Regions from separate parts of the Homo sapiens genome. Here region 2 is linked to region 1. Evidence: promoter capture Hi-C in human tissues and cell types (Jung and others, 2019). All regions are on one chromosome and are shown on one strand. Each heading gives the region's core, a stretch centred on a gene start or on the middle of the fragment in contact. The rest is flanking DNA. Distances are from core to core; before and after follow the strand shown. Region 1 holds the start of MGP (matrix Gla protein). Region 2 overlaps ART4 (ADP-ribosyltransferase 4 (inactive) (Dombrock blood group)).

Evidence for each region. The method cuts DNA at HindIII sites, captures the fragments that hold promoters and counts their contacts. A contact is called where the count stands out against the background at its distance.
Region 2: a contact is called between a fragment that was not itself captured here and the fragment with the promoter of MGP in region 1, in 2 of the 25 tissues and cell types used here (bladder and hippocampus).

Annotation. Positions count from the first base shown.
Region 1 is chr12:14,884,060-14,887,113 of GRCh38, forward strand. MGP (matrix Gla protein) reads right to left here and starts at 1,795. Exons shown (of 4, transcript NM_000900.5): 1 at 1,672-1,795; 2 at 154-186. The coding sequence starts at 1,732. The HindIII fragment of the contact is 8,639 bases long and covers 1-3,054 here.
Region 2 is chr12:14,836,411-14,839,333 of GRCh38, forward strand. All of the region lies in intron 2 of ART4 (ADP-ribosyltransferase 4 (inactive) (Dombrock blood group)), which reads right to left. Among named protein-coding and RNA genes, the nearest start is that of ART4, 5.7 kb to the right of the region's middle. The HindIII fragment of the contact is 5,545 bases long and covers 1-2,923 here.

The DNA.
Region 1 (3,054 bases), core at 545-3,044:
TTATAGTCATTAGATTTAAAAATTTACTTTAGTTTTCCAAAAGAGGCCCCCTTTTCCCTCCCTGTTATATATCTTTCCATCTTGTTTATTTAAAAATAAGAAGAGGTTCTTTAATGCAAGGGATTTGAATAAAGAAGTTAAATATTCACTTACTAAGTTCATAAGATTCCATGCTTTCATGTGATTCTGAAATTAAAAAAAAAAGATTCATTATATCAATATTTATCCATGATTCATTATGTTATTATTTATCAATTTAGACACTGTGATAGTTTAAATACAGGGATGGAAGAAGAGGAAAGAGTCTAAAAACATGAAGAATATATTTAGCAGTGTGGTTATTAGAAATTTCAGGAATTTAGGATTTATGAGGTTTTTCTCTAGCTCTGGCCTTGCTGTGGATATCTCTATATTTTAGTTTCTCTGATGTTGAAGGAGGGAGTGGCCATTTTCAGCTAAAATTTCCCAAGGGCTATGACGTCTTCAGACAAGCAAAATAAGACACTTTAAGTGCTGTACAGAAGTCTCCAGAGAACCTTCTTCTCTGATTTATTCAGAGCCTGTTTGAGAACAGGGTCAAAGAGGATTAAGAAGGATCCAGAAGACAGCCAGGTTTCTCCAGGCAAGAGAACTACAGGGCAGTTGCTCTGCTGGGCTTACTAGGGCAGGTTTCTAAGAGGGTTCCGAAAGCCTCTTAAGAACCTGTGTTAAATTGGCAGCCACAGAAACCACTAGCTCCAGCTGACAGCTCACCCTGGGCACGATGCCAGTTCAGAGAGAGAACTGAAACGATATCAAAGCCGAAGTTTTCTTCTTTCTGCCACTCTCCTGAGCACAGCAGATAAATTTTGGAATAAGAAGCTTCTATTAATATTTGCCAGCAAGTGAATTTTCTTCAAAACTTAAAAAGGAGGTGAAGAAATCAAATCCTCTAATACAGAAAATTTGTGAATACAAGAGTGAGAAGCATAATCTTTATGGTTGTTAATGTAATTTAAATTTTAAAACAATGAAAATATCTAGGTAATTGAAACAAAAGACTGAAATAAGTAAATAACTTTGCTTCAGATTTCCTTTTATAAGCTTTGAACAAATGCAGGTATATTTAATGACATATAGAAAACAGGCAAAATTTATTTTCTGACAACAGGAGTTATGAAAATGATTCTTTTCTAAAATTCTTTTGATGTAAAACTTTATTTTAAAATTAATTAACTGAACAAACATAGTAAGTTCATGAGATTGTCCAGTCCCTAGAAAGGGCTATACTTAATACTTCACATAAAAATGGATTTTCTCAAAGGCAAGTGGTTTAAACAATACCCTTAACCCATTGATACCAAAGTCTAAATAAATATCCTTAAAAATGAGGATGCAGGGGGCTGGGAATTTGGTATCTTCTTTCTGAAATATGAGTTTCTAGATATACAGAGACTTACCACTGAACGGGTTTGCCTGTTAAGTTGCATAAGACTCTGGATATTTAGGATATAAAAAAGACTTAATAGAACAGATCAGTTTCTGCGGAGACTGGGAAATGTGAAAGTAATGGTACTTTAAGATTATAACAGAGAAAGGGGGAAGAAGAGGAGGAGGGAGAGGAAAAATAGAAGTAAGCCAAAGTCAGAGGCAGAAAAGTAAACACAGAGAAATGGGAGAAAAGTTTCTCACCATAACACAAAGTTACTACCGCTAAGGCGGCCAGGATGGCAAGAAGGATCAGGCTCTTCATGGTTTCGTCCTGCAGGTCAGTCTCAGGGTCTTGTGTAGCAGCAGTAGGGAGAGAGGCTCCTACGGGATGTTAGTGGAAGGCTGTGAGGTTTTTATAAGAACCAGAGCAGTTGAGAGGGGAGGAACCAGTGGGAGAGAGCTGGAGAAGGTGGGGAAGGGTTGGCACTGAACTAGCATTGGAACTTTTCCCAAACAGTCATTCCTTCCAGATATTATCTACTCTGAGTGGGCAGTTTTCCCTAACTGCTGGACCTGACTGTGTTACACAGGATGCTGCTCTGGTGCAGAAGTTTTGGCCATCGTATGCTTGGGGACAGACCTGGGCAAAAGCCCACAGAGGAAGTTGCCACAAACACATGATCTACCCTCCTGGCCCTGACCGCAGGGCTTTTGGGTTTGGTCCACAGACAGAGCCCTAGTGTTCTGTTTGTTACCCTGATTGATTGATGAGAGGTTTTGGGGGAGAAAGGACTTCACTTTCTTTTCTTTTCTTCTTTTTAACCTTTGCCTCTTCTTCTAGGAGAACTTCGCTTTCTACACTGATTATAATTTAGACATCTTCCCAGTAGGGCTGAATCCTAGACCAATCTATCAATCCCAGACTAATCAGGCATTTGCCTGGGGATATGCATCTTTGGCATTTTTCCAAGGGTTCATCAGGATGGAGATATCCGGTGCACCATGAGTTCTGTTTCCTTAATCAACACCGTTGTAACTTGCCCATCCAGTTTTGTGACATTAATTCAAACCTGTGCCCTAGTCCTCTTTTAGGCAGCGTATCAGTGCTGGAAAGTGCAGCAAGGATAAGAGGGTACTGTTCTCTCATTTCTGAGGGCGTTGTCTCGATAATTAACTAACTTGATAGACTTTTTAGTGAGTGGCAGGTGAGATGCAAGGTACTGTGCTAGGTGCTGTGGGGGATGTACAGACAAACAACACACCTCCCTAAGGAGGTAAGTAATAGCTACTTACTATTCACTTTGCTCTTTCACTGTAATGTATCCTCAAGCACAGGTTTTCACTACACCATCAGGCCCAGAAGTACTAGCTTATTTTCCACAGGAGGATTTCAGTTTGATGCCTCTGGTTATCTTGTATAGAGAGGTCTTTTCTTTCTTTCTTTTTTTCCCCCTTCTTTTGCAATCACAAAATCTGTCCTACCAGATGTGCCTCTCTTGCTTGGGAACCCAATAGTTTTCTTTGCAGACAACAGACTTGAAGTCACAGAGCAGCAGATTGTAGAAGAGCTACAGCTTCGGGACCTCTGACTCTTGAGCTGGAACAGCAATAGGGCTGGGTTGGGGGTGGGGTGGATGTGTCTTT
Region 2 (2,923 bases), core at 346-2,845, 48 kb before region 1:
ACAGTGTAGACTGTGGATGATTCACATCCCAAGAGGGAAGGCACAAGATTTCATCACACCACTCAGAATGGCATACCATTTAAAACTTAGGAATTCTTTATCTCTGGAATTGTCCATTTAATATATTCTGCGGGTAACTGAAACCAGAGAAAGCAAAACCATAGGTAAGGGGGCATTACTGCAATTTTTTGCCCTCAACTAAATGACTGTGATGCTAACTAGCCAATGGCAGATGAGGCTTAGGTAGGTCAGGTAGAACCAGAGGATGGACCAGCCTTCTCTGCAACCCTTAGTCAGAGTCTGGGATCAAAGGAAGAAAGGCATCCCTGCAATGTGAGCTTATTCCTCTCCTTCTTTTACCTTCCCAGATAGTTTCGTAGCTGTGGAGGGTGAGAAAATGCTCCAATTCCAGCTCTTGGCTGATTATATGATGCCTCTGACCTATCTCTTCCCTCTTCACTTCAATTTATAAAGAAAATATTAAGTTGAGAACTTTAAACTTTTCATTCAAAGGAGGCACTTTCTCTTGGGCATATCTGAATCACCAAGATCACTATTCTTGCACTTTGGGGCCATTATGAAATAAAATGAGGGTCACTTGAAAACAAACACTGCAATACCGAGACAGCAGATCTGATCACTGAGAGGGCTACTAAGTGACTCACAGTGTAGACTGTGGATCCCCCAAACAACGGGATGATTCACATCATGACCAGTGGTATTTTTATTCTGCCGTTTACAAGCTTTTCTGCATGGCCACACAAGCTTCTAATTGATAAATTTCTGGGAAAAATTTAGTTACGGTAACTCACATTGCAAGTGACCATGTTGATCATTTACATTGTGACAACAGCTTACTTTTGACTAGGGGTTGAAGCTTCTAGAATATCTTCCCTTCTTCAAATATTGGAACTGTTTTTAATTAATTGTGTTAGATGGTCATGTAGTCTAAGGCTCAGATTGCTTAGAGGTATATTCACCATCATTCATTCACTCATTCAACAAAATAGGCTGGGCACTTCTATGTGCCAGAGGACTGAAGTTAGTAATAGCTAACACTAATTTACCATTATTATATGCTATAGAATATATAAATAATTTTATTTATTTATTTTTCTTTTAAGATGGAGTCTCACTCTATCGCCCAGGCTGGAGTGCAGTGGCATGATTTCAGCTTACTGAAACCTCCGCCTCCTGGATTCAAGCGATTCTCCTACCTCAGCCTCCTCAGTAGCTGGGACTGCATGTATGTGCCATGATACCTGGCTACTTTTTGTATCTTTTTGTAGAGACGAGGTTTCACCATGTTGGCCAGGCTGGTCTCAAACTCCTGGCCTCAATTGATCCACCCACCTCGGCCTCCCAAAATGCTGGGATTACGGGTGTGAGCCACCGCACTTGGCCAATAATTTTACATTTTATTTCATTTTCACAAAAGTCTTCTGAGGTTCTGTTACGATAATTATTAGGTAGATGAAAAAAGAGTTTAAGCAACTTGACCAAGAACACATAGCTATTAAGTGGTACAGTGGGATATAAATTCAAACAGAGTGGGTCTGGGCTCAAACTGCCTGCCTGCCTAGTTCTCAAATACTAGTTCCTCAAATACTAGTCGAGTTCCTGCCCCCAGGGAGCTTATAGAGCGACACAAGATTATTGATTCCCTTAAGTGTGATTGGTGATTCCAAATATTTCATTAAGACCAACCGAACTGTCAGAATTTAGTGATCTATGTGGCTACCCCAGCTAAACCTTAACTCAAAACTAAGTTAAAGTTGCATTTGGGTAGTTTCGCCATAGGAAAGCAAAGATCATTAATTTGGGTGGGGGTGTCCTGAAATATTTTTCTTTGAGGTTTATAGAGTGGCAGAATGTGAGTAATGGTTTATATTATATACTCCTTTCCCTCAGTTTCCCACTCAATGCTTAATATAAATCTTCTGTAATTTTTCATTGAATATATTTTACTGTGCTTACTATCCTAGTGAAGAATTATATGTTCCAAATTCATGATGAGAATGAAGTAATCATATCCTAGTCAGGTGTAGTTCCAAAGAATCCTGGAACCTGGCTATGAATGTTTTCATTTATTATCAAAATCTCACTGTTTTCTTCATATTCTACTATAGTTTTTCATCCTCTACAAACACTAATCTCCTGTGTCTGTGGGGCAGATACTCATTTCACTCGTTTTGCTGCCATGTTTCCAAGGTGACATGTGAGGAGATGAAAGTATTGATAGGTCTCCTCTCCCTGGTCTGTATTTATGGCTAGGACAGAGTGAGCAGATTCTAGACCTCAGTGTGGATGCCAGTTTGAACACTTTTGCAACACTACTGCCCTGAAATGTTGAGAAATGCTGAGAGCCTGAATTATAAATCATAGCAATAATGATAAAGCGAAGACAAATTTGGGGATATATTGAAGGTAGACCCTGCAACTGGGTTCCAGCTGACTGTGAGTGTGAATAAATTTACATATGAACAGTCTTTTTTTTTTTTTTTCTGAATCAAAAAGGGCACAGGATTTGCTACACAACTACCCCTCCATGAAATGGCTAGGTGGCAACATAAAATTCAATCAGCCATGTTTTTCTTAAAAAAAGTTTAACTTTTTTTTGTATTTTGATATCTCTAAATTTTCCTGCTTCAGTTCATTTTTCACAGTGTCATCAGAGCCCTTTCTAAGATGTTGACCAAATTGATTTCTACTCCTTAAAAACTTCTAATTACTTCTTATTACCTACAGCATAAAATTAAAAGGTCCTTAGCATGAAATACAAGACCTTTTATAATGAAGCCCCATCAGAATTCTCCTACCTGGATAAATCCCCTCCTCCCTTCCTACTCCTATTCTTTTCCCATATCCTACACATCCTACACACCAGCCATCCAGAATTTCAGAGTCCCTGAAGACACCAGGC